2 separate regions of the Homo sapiens genome follow, and region 1 is linked to region 2. Evidence: promoter capture Hi-C in 16 types of primary human blood cells and fetal thymus (Javierre and others, 2016). All regions are on one chromosome and are shown on one strand. The core of a region is centred on a gene start or on the middle of the fragment in contact, and the rest is flanking DNA. Distances in the headings are between cores, read along the strand shown.

Region 1 (4,793 bases), core at 1,642-4,141, 270 kb before region 2:
ATCTGTACTAAATAAATGCCCACAGTGCCAGCTTGTCAGGGCCACGGCTGCTACAACTCTTTCTGTGAGCGGCCTGGTCCCCTAGCCCACTCTTTCACTGGATATCTGTGTTGGAGTGCATTTGTTCATCCATCGTTCGGCCAGGGTCTGTGGGTCAGACCCAGCAATTTTACATCAGTTAGGATGCCTATTACCAAAAAGTTAAAAAATAACATGTTGGTGAGGATGCAGCAAAAAGAGAACACTTATACACTGTTGGTGGGAATGTAAATTACTACAGCCTCTATGGAGAACAGCATGGAGATTTCTCAAAGAACTAAAACTAGAACTACTATTCGATCCAGCAATTCTACTACTGGGTATCTACCCAGAGGTAATCATTATATAAAAAAGCTACCTGCACTCATATGTTTATCACAGTACTCTTCACTATAACAAAGATATGGAATCAACCTGCTTGTCAACTGATTATTGGATAAAGTAAATGATATATATATATATATATATATATATACACACACACAGAGTGGAATACTATTCAGCCATAAAAAATAATAAAATCATGTCTTTTGGAGCAACATGAATGGAACTGGAGGCCATTATCTTAAGTGTAACAACTCAGAAACAAAATCAAATACCACATGTTCTCACTTATAAAAGAAGGGGCTAAGTAGTGTGATCACAGGGACATAGAATGTAAATTAATAAACACTGGAGACTTGAAATGGTGGGAGTGTGGGAGGGGGAGGGGGATGAGAAATTACTTAATGGGTACAATGTTCATTATTCAGGTGATGCCTACCCTAGAAGTTTAGACTCCACCACTACACGATATATCCATGTAAAAACACTACACTTGTATCTGTTAAGTCTGGACAAATAAAAAATAAAATAATAATAAAGGAACCAATGTTGGAAAGGTTGTCAAGAAGCAGGAACAATTATGAACTGCTATAATGATATAACTAGGCAGTATAAATCTTTATAGAGAGCAGTTTGGCATTATGCATTGAGAGGTCATTAAAAAGTCAGCTTGCTCTTTAACCCAGCAATCTCACTTTTGGAATGTAGCCTAAGGAAACACTTATAAATAAATTAAAAAATATTTGTACAAAATGATTGATATTTTTATTAATGAAAAATTGGGAATTGTCAAAAACCCTACAATGAAAAAATATTTAAATCCTAAAATCATAGAATGCTAAAGCTAGAATCTTTGAGGTCATTTTTTCCAAATACCATTTATTTTCCACCCCTTTTTATTTTTCAGAGGAAGCAACTGAACTCATGTAAACTCTAATATCAACTGGAATGCATATGCTACAGCCAAACTTGATAAAGACTATAAAATGTAAGAAAAGGTATGGATACAATACGGTAGTCACAGCTTTCGATGAAAATGTAATAAAAAGGGGAAAACAAAAATATAGCCTGTGAAAAGTTAAATTTTTAGGCCCACTCTTTGACAGCTATCTGACATCTCTAAATTATCAAACAGTTGGCAACATGCTTCTTGGATAATTTGCCTGATTCAGTGACAATTTGTCCAGAAATAGGCATAGAGAAAGGAGGTGGTCCTGTACTTAAAGTGAAAATAATTCAATGGAAACAGAATAAGAAATACTACATCGAAAATAAGGCAACTTTAGCTTCAGTTCCAACTCTGCCATTAAAACCAAGTCTCTGACTCCACTCTGGGACTGTGCTTTCTTGTTTCTTTTGGAGTAGATGACCTCAAAGATCTTTATTTATAGCCAACATTTTATGTCATCCTATAATATGGTTCCTGGAAGCTTAAAATTAAATTCAAAGAGTTGGTTAGAACATCATGCTCCTAATGCCAAACCACTGCATTTAAATCTTACATGTTCCCCTTGTTCTAGAATCACAAGCTAACCCCTCAACTGTAGGTAGCAATCTCGCAAATATGTTACTTGTCATGGAGAGGCCTGAATGAAAGTGTTTGGGCTACATTCTCAAAACTGGTAAACAATGCCAATATAATACTGCCTGATATTAGGACAGCAAGGCATAATCTGCTTAAAACTATTATGTCAGCTTTCTGGAGGTCAGTTGGAAAGATTTAAAGGGAATAAAAGAGCAAGTTTCCTTTAAAAGCCTACATTTGGAGGAAGAAAACCAAAAGGAAAGGTAAATTAGTTAGTAATCTTTAGTACTACATGCCACTGAGGTTTCACACAAACTTTGGACTTCCCAAGAGGATTGATTAGAGGCTGACAGCTGTAGGAGTTCACTGGATACAGCTCCCCTGAGGGAGAGGATTTCTCCTTTTTCTCCACAGTGCCCTTGTAGCCAGTATGCGTGGAGATGTCCCAGACAACAACAATACCTTCCCCTTCACTTTACAATTTCGAAAGCTCTTCCACATCCATGACTTAATTAGATCCTCACAATAGTCCTGCAAGACAAAGATTATTATATTCTTCCCATTTCATAAACTTATCAAAGACTAAGTAATCTCAAAGCTAGTAAGACGTGGAGACAGAATTTGAATCCACACAATCCAAGTTCAGTGCTTTTTCCACAAACCACTTTTCCTCTACCTCAGATGCAAAGTCTCACTGCAGCTTCCAAAACCCAAGTATTCTTTCTTTTCCTACTCCTTGGTCCATGATCTATTTTCATGCTTATCTTTAGTTCTACTTTACATTCTGTTGTAGCTCAACCAATTAAGAAGTGGAAAAGACCTATTGCATACCTAGAAAACAGAGTGAGATTTTAAAGTAGATTGTGTGTTATAGGCCCAGTTGCTGACATTTCTTGAGGAACTATTCATTTTCACATATTCTAAATCATTGCCCAAGTCATCAAGCCATGTCCCATGGCCAATCTTTTCTGTTAAACAACTAGACAACATGAACATAAATTGTCTCTGTCAGCCATTACTAGTCTGAGGAGGAAATGAAGAACAATCTTTGGGAAACACTCTGATTTATTCAGATCCAATAGCATACATCCCTTCACTTGCCCTATTCTTCTTGGTTAGTCTTGACTAATTCTTCCCTTCATTACAACTTCTGGCACCAGTGTGGGCATGCTATGAGTCATCAATCCATTTTCCTTAATCTTGTGGTATGTGGCATTCTGGTGTCTTTTAACCAGGCATTCTTTCTACCCATTGAGACTTAATTCTTACTTAGAGCCTGGATTATGACAAAGCTCATTAGTCTCAGAAGCCAAACCAACACTAACATGAATCAGGTGAATTCAGTGGGGTAGTCAGTAGAGTTATCATTCCCACTTGCCCACACAAATTTATTTGTTGACTGTTTTCAGCACTTTGAGCAAATGGAAGGTTTAGACAGAGATGAAGAAAAGTCAAGACTTAGAGACAAAAGCCAAACAGAAAGACAAATGAAACTGAAGATTTTATAACATGTTATAATTGATTACTCATTAAGCACCTATAGATTGTCAGATGAATATTAGAGATATCATGGAAAATGGGGCTCAGATGTTTTTCCCTTCAAATATGGATGTTAAGAGTATCAGTTTAAAGGTTCATTTATTTGAAATTTTCTTTCCTTAGCCACCAAAAATAATCAGCCGGAGGAAAAAAGGCCTCTAAAAATCTCCCCAACAACTGAAAGTACCAAGCCTTTGTAATTTTTCACTAACTCCTCTTTCTATTTGGCCCCTGTTATGTACATCCTATTTTAGTTTATTAAACCTTCACTAGTGTGGGTGTGAAAGAAAATGAAATACTTAAGGCTACGGCTTTAGAGTCAGGATACTGTGAGAGGATTGCACACCTACCTGTTAAAAATAAAGCCACAGGATGTTCCAATATATTTGGATAACAACAGACGTCAGTATCCTCCAGTTTTCAACATATCTCAGCTGGGAATACCCTAATTTACCAATCAGAATGGGTTTGCAATTTAGGATTTCTGCCCAGACAGTAAACTGCCTCTGAAAACAACATTTTTTTGTGTGTGTGGAAATCATTCCCATTTAAATAAAGCTTTCCTGTGCTTGTCTCTGGGTGTGTTATTCAGGGTTGCCCTGACTTTGTGTACCTGGGTTGCAATTCTTTGTTTTTCAAATAAATGGTATTTTCTCTGAATTTTGTATCAATATATATTTTAGTTAACATAGCTGGATTACAGAAGTCAGACCTTAAGTGATTTTACCTTCCAGTGGACCTCTGTTTTCTGAAATCAGGTGACGTACCCACAAGAAAGAGCTCCTTATGCTCTCCATCTCTTCGGATTGCTGATATGGTCATTGGTAAGTCCTCTCAGGCCCCATCCTCCTTCCCTTTAGTTGAGGACAATGCCTTTGAGAGTTTGGGAACAGCTGTTCCAATTGTTCTGGCAAAAGCTCTTACCTTGTGCAGGAGTTTTCCTGCTTTTGTCAGAAAATTTCATATTGGTTAGGAGTTCTTCCATTGATGAGTAAAATTAGCATTATAAATATGGGATTCTTTAATTCTAATCTTTGTAATTATTGTCCCCCTTCTGGGATTCAAGATAGTTATATGTTCAAAAATTATGGACTCTCCACATGTGTTTATCTGGAACCATGGACCTTTTACATAAAAGACATTTTGAAATTACAATGGCCAAATTGGTGTTCCTTTGATTTATTTAAACTAGGTTTTCTCTGAACTAAATGGAGAAGACCATGGTTTTAAAACAATAAAACCTAAATGAGGTGCTGATTTTAATTAGATTTAGAAGTGTCCAAACTCATTCAGGACTCTAAAATTGCCTCCCTCCAAAACAAAGTCTCTAAACTCACAAAGGTGAATAAAAAAATTGAAAGAAAGG
Region 2 (5,003 bases), core at 1,606-4,105:
TGATCAGCTTAATTTTTTTCGTGGGGTTTATAACCTGATGTCCCTTGAAAGGGCTTCAATGGATCCATGAATCTCCTAAAATTATGTAACAAATTACTTGTGTTTGTGTGTGTGCTGCTGTGCCTTTGTGCATTTTTTCTAGGGAGATAACCAAAGTTTTTCATCATATTCTTAAATTGCTGCTAAATATGCACCTTAGACTATAAGAATACAGCAAAAGGGTTATTTTCATTTATAAGACATTAAAATGAAACGAAGTTTTAATTTAATGAAGCCTCATCTATAGAATAGGCTGCCAAAAATCGAAATGGTTCCAATATCATTCCATTTTAAACTTCTCATAGAAATTGGATAGAAAATCTTGTGACGGTGCCATTGTAAAGTCAGGTTTGAGGGTTTAGCTCAAAGATGCAAGAGACTAAGGAGCCCGTTTCGAAACCTTTCCTGGCATTAGAATTGCCCAAGAGAGAGACTCAGGCTAATAAAAGCAAATGTAAACGGAAGACCTTTAAGCAGATAAAACTGTCATATTTTTCCTCATAAATAGAAAATTCAAGGCTGGAGATAATTTCTTTTATCTCATCCATTTCCTCTCTTGTTCTCTATTGCAAACAGCACGCCAGTGACTTTCCTCTTAATGTGTTTCAAAACATAATCCTAGACTGCGAGCAACTACTTTTCTAGCTTTTGTGTCTTTTGCTGATTGTTAGGGTTTAGTGAGTGGATGTTAATTACAACCCCGAGATTAGATGTAATAAAAACTCTGGGAGTGCCCCACCCTAACCTCTTTTTCTATTCTACTTAGTCGACAGACTCACTCATATTTTTTTAAAATGCAGATTTACTTGCAAACGCTTTAAAGCCAAGTATTTCAACTCTACTTTTACCTTGGGATCGCTACTCTAGTGAGGTTCTAATACACAGAACTTCCTCTTCCTGGCTAAAAGTTCTCCTAATGGTAAAAATGGGTCACTTCCCACCCTCCTGTCTTTGCTTTTTGGAGGAAAGACAAAGTGCAGAACTGAGAACAGGAGCATAATCATTGCGGACAAATGCTATTGAAATGCCATTTCCTCCCCAGAGGGATGAAAATACTCAGAGTCGATTTTTACTAATTTTCTCTAATGACAGGGAGCGAGGGTTGGAATAATAAGAATGTAATAAAAGAACAACAGTTGAAAACAAACATTCCTCCCCCAGCCCCGGTTAAGATTAAAGTGGAACGGCCACTTCCCTCGCCCTGGCTCCCAGCAGTCGCCCACTGGCTTGCTGGTTAGGCTGTGATCGCGATCGCTTTGACTTCTCTCGCGCTGCCGCAGACCTGCATTCAGCCCCCACGCCTGAGAGACGCCTGCTTTGATAGTTATGAGGGCTTTAGCCATTTATTAGTGCTGGAGCTGATTCGTTTGCGTGTCGGGCGGGTGTGAGGGTTAGGTACCGTATTATGTACCAGGTCAGTGCTGTAGCCTTCTCGCCTGCCTCAACACTTGGGTTAGAAGAAAGGACGTTGTAAGATGGCAATGGATTTTAGGCCAATTTGCCTCTGCCAACTTGTAGGAAGGAAGCTGGAGCTTCCCTGAGAGGCCAGGGTGAAGAGGTTGCTTTGCCGTCGGGGACTTAGTGGCTAAACTGGAGGGTCCGTTGCCAGCCAAGCACTGTGAACCTAAATTGAGCATCACCAGCTTTGGGGGCGGGGAGGGGGGAGACAGCCCGCTCAGATGGGTAAGGGTTTGGAAATGGAACAGTCAAGCAGCAGTGCCTGAACAACGGGACACTACAGCTGCCCTCTCGCTTCATTCACCCGTTGAGCTTTCTCATGCATCTCTTTTCCCATGTGGGCAACTACAGGGTTGCATCCTGATCCTTGTGGCTTAACATACCCATTGTCCACTCACTCGCTTTCTTCATGGAGCAGCGAAAGGCGAAAATCACCTCTAGGGTAGGTTTAGTCCCAATCGCTGCACTCAGTGAGTGAGTTTTGAGCCCAGGCGAATGCGAGGGAGATGCCTAATAGGCCAGCCAGCCATATAGGGGTCGCCTCAGCTAAGCCCTCTTGGGAGAGGCCTGAGAAGTACGAGGGCAGGCCGACCAAGAGAAGTAGCGGAGAAGGGAAGGAAGGAAAAGTGTGTGGGCATTGGAATTGATTACTCACCCGTCACCTGCACCGTCTTGCGCATCCATGCATAGGGGCTGTGGCGGCTCCTGCTGGGGGAACTGGCCTTGGCGGCGCCTGCGTCCGTCGGGACAAGCGACCCGCCAGCCTGGCCTGGTAGGCTGCTGCCGCTAGTTCCACCGCCCACAGGGCCCAAGTTGCTGTAGTCGGTCGAGCAGAAAGCGGCGGGGCTAGAGGTCACGTCGTTCACCGGCACTGTGCCCATTGTACTAGACGGCCCAGGATACACGCTCCAGTCTTCTCGCGGGGGACTGTAGGGTGAGCCCCAGACTCCCAGAGACGGCCAGTGAGGATCCATGCTGGGCATATGAGGATACCCCATATAGTGCGAGAAAGCCGGTGCCGCAGCGAAATTGGAGGCTGGCATCGGACTCCCACCGCCCCCTGTGCCGCCTGTCCCAGCTGTGCCGTCGCCCCCAGGGCTCATGAGAGTGCCCGGGTACATGCCTGCTTCTTTCTCCAAAAGACAGCTTCCGTACATCGTGTCTTGGGTAGAAGGCGCTCCCTAAGCCATCCTGAAGTCCCTGTAAGGCCCCAACTCGACTTTGAGAAGCAGCAGAGAATAAACTTATCAGTACGTAGTTGTGCCGCAAGCTCTTTTGCACCCCTCAGGCTACTCCATCCCACGTTTCTTACGAGGGTATCCAGGTGACTAGCAGCCCTGTATAGATAGGCCACCAATGGCTGGGCTGACGTCAAGGGGCTTCAGGCTTTTACATAGCATTTGCATTCAAATGAAGGGCCATTTCACTTTCACAGGAACTTGTTCACCCACTCCCCAAGCTCCCAGGCCTTTCTGTCTCATCTTTCTTGATTCTGTCCATCTGGTCCCCATAGCGTCAGTATTGTGCTTTTGGGGACAGGAACTCCTCCAGGGATTTCTGACCAGCTCCCCTCAAAGTCAGATAGAGACCTGCAGAAACCGGGCAAAGTTCCGCTCTCTAGGATTCAGTCCTTACACCGCGGCCTCCTCCCTTTCACCGATCTTCCCGCGTCCAACCTGCATCTGCAGTCTCCTTCTGCCCAATTCCCTCGCAGGGGTTTACTGCATGGCACTGGCCCAGGATGCCAATGAAAAGAGCTTTCCCTTACTCTCCTTACTCCCTCCATCAAGAGGACGCCTTTGTTTCCAAGGGCAAAGATTCATTTCACAACTCTCTGTTGAGCGTCTACTGTGTGCCAGGTACTGTGTAGGCATGGGGATACAGCAGTGAATAAAAGACAAAAATTCTTGCTCTGCCTTCCTAAGATTACACTGTAGTGGATGGCAGGCTGAATTAATAGAACGTTGTTTACAAATATGCACAAATTAAAGAAAGATGAGTAACGTAGGTTATGCAAAATGGTAGGAGAGAGAGAGAACCATGTGGATAATAAACTTTCCTATTTTCATGTCAATCCACTACTCTCAGGTGTCTCCTTCTGCCAGGTATGGCTTCTGTCTGAAATCCAGTGCCTCAAGGGGCCAGAACTCTTGCAGTCTCAAATCCATGGCAGCTGCAGCAAACTAAAAAAGTTTTCTTTGTAAAACTCCAATTGTTGAAAAAGACATAGACTTGCTAGTAGATGCCAATGAAATCAGTATCTTGCCTCAAGAAACCAGGTCTCCTCTTGTGTTCCTCCTCTCCACCCAGCACCCCCAAGACCTACCACAGCCTTTACTCCAGGCTGCTTCCTACTCAGGAAATGTGCTCCTACACAAAATCCAACATAACCTGGCACCCCCACCCCCTTTTAGCTAATCCATCTATGGCTTTGGGAAAGTCACTTAACCTCTCTGAGTTTCACGGGTTTTCCCTTTTAAAAATAGAGAACCTAATGGTATCTACCTTACAAGCAGGATTTCCTCAGATAATGCAAGCAAACTGCTTAACTTAGTGCTTGGCACACAGTATGGGACCACTGTATTCACTCAGCAAATATTTATTGAGTACTTAGTGCTGTTCTATGTATGGAGACATCAGTGGTGAGCAGATAAAGCCTCCGGCTTTATTAAGCATATATCATAGTGGGGAGAAACACTGATAAGTAATTAAATTTTATGGTATATCAGACAGTAATCAACTCTATGGAGAAAAAAAAAAGCAGGGAAGGAATATACGGAATGCTGGGAGGTGGACGTCACAATTTTAAATGTGATAGTCTAGGATGACTTCACAGATAATTGACATTTAACTAAAATATGAAAGAGTTAATGGAGTGAGGTAAGAGGACAGAGGATTCAGAAGAAAGAAACAAGTGAAAACAGAATGTTCATTTTCTGTTGGAGAAAGTGCAAGGAAGACAGTGTAGCTAAAGACTAGATGAGGTCTAAAAGCTGAAGGGAAATAGGCCATTGCAAAAATTCTAGTTTTTGCTTTGAGATAGGGAGACATTGTAGGGTTTAGAGCAGAGGAGTGACATGATTTGAGTTAAATTTTGAGTGGCTCTCTCTGGCCATTGGATCAAAAATAGACTGTAAGTAGACAGAATCAGGCAGATTTAAAAAAAAGACTATTGCAATAATACAGGTGAATGGCAGTGTGGGTGGAGATAAGTGGTTGGATTCGGTATATATTTTGAAACTTGTTTCAGAGAAGAAGGAAAATGAGTAATTGATCAGAAAAGACCAATTAAAGTCTGGTGCTGGGGAGAAGGGACTAAGAGGCAGGAAAGTAACATACCTATTGGCACTTTTTACACTTTTTGCACATTATTTTATCTTCACAACAGCCCCATGAGTTATTGTCATTCCCATTTTAGAGATGTAGAAACTGAGGCTCAGAGAGGTGGCATGACTATTTAAATGCACATGGCTGGTGTGTGGTAAAGCTAGGTTCAAATTCTGGGC

The links. The method cuts DNA at HindIII sites, captures the fragments that hold promoters and counts their contacts. A CHiCAGO score of 5 or more calls a contact.
Region 1: a fragment that was not itself captured here is called in contact with the fragment with the promoter of CDX4 in region 2 in 1 of 17 cell types (non-activated CD4 T cells); the score reaches 5.1 in non-activated CD4 T cells.

The regions. Positions count from the first base shown.
Region 1 is chrX:73,711,553-73,716,345 of GRCh38, reverse strand. No RefSeq gene overlaps it. Among named protein-coding and RNA genes, the nearest start is that of XIST, 140 kb to the left of the region's middle. The HindIII fragment of the contact is 2,192 bases long and covers 1,796-3,987 here.
Region 2 is chrX:73,444,905-73,449,907 of GRCh38, reverse strand. CDX4 (caudal type homeobox 4) reads right to left here and starts at 2,855. Exons shown (of 3, transcript NM_005193.2): 1 at 2,153-2,855. The coding sequence starts at 2,654. RefSeq lists enhancers at 1,831-2,495, 2,496-3,161. The HindIII fragment of the contact is 9,419 bases long and covers 1-5,003 here.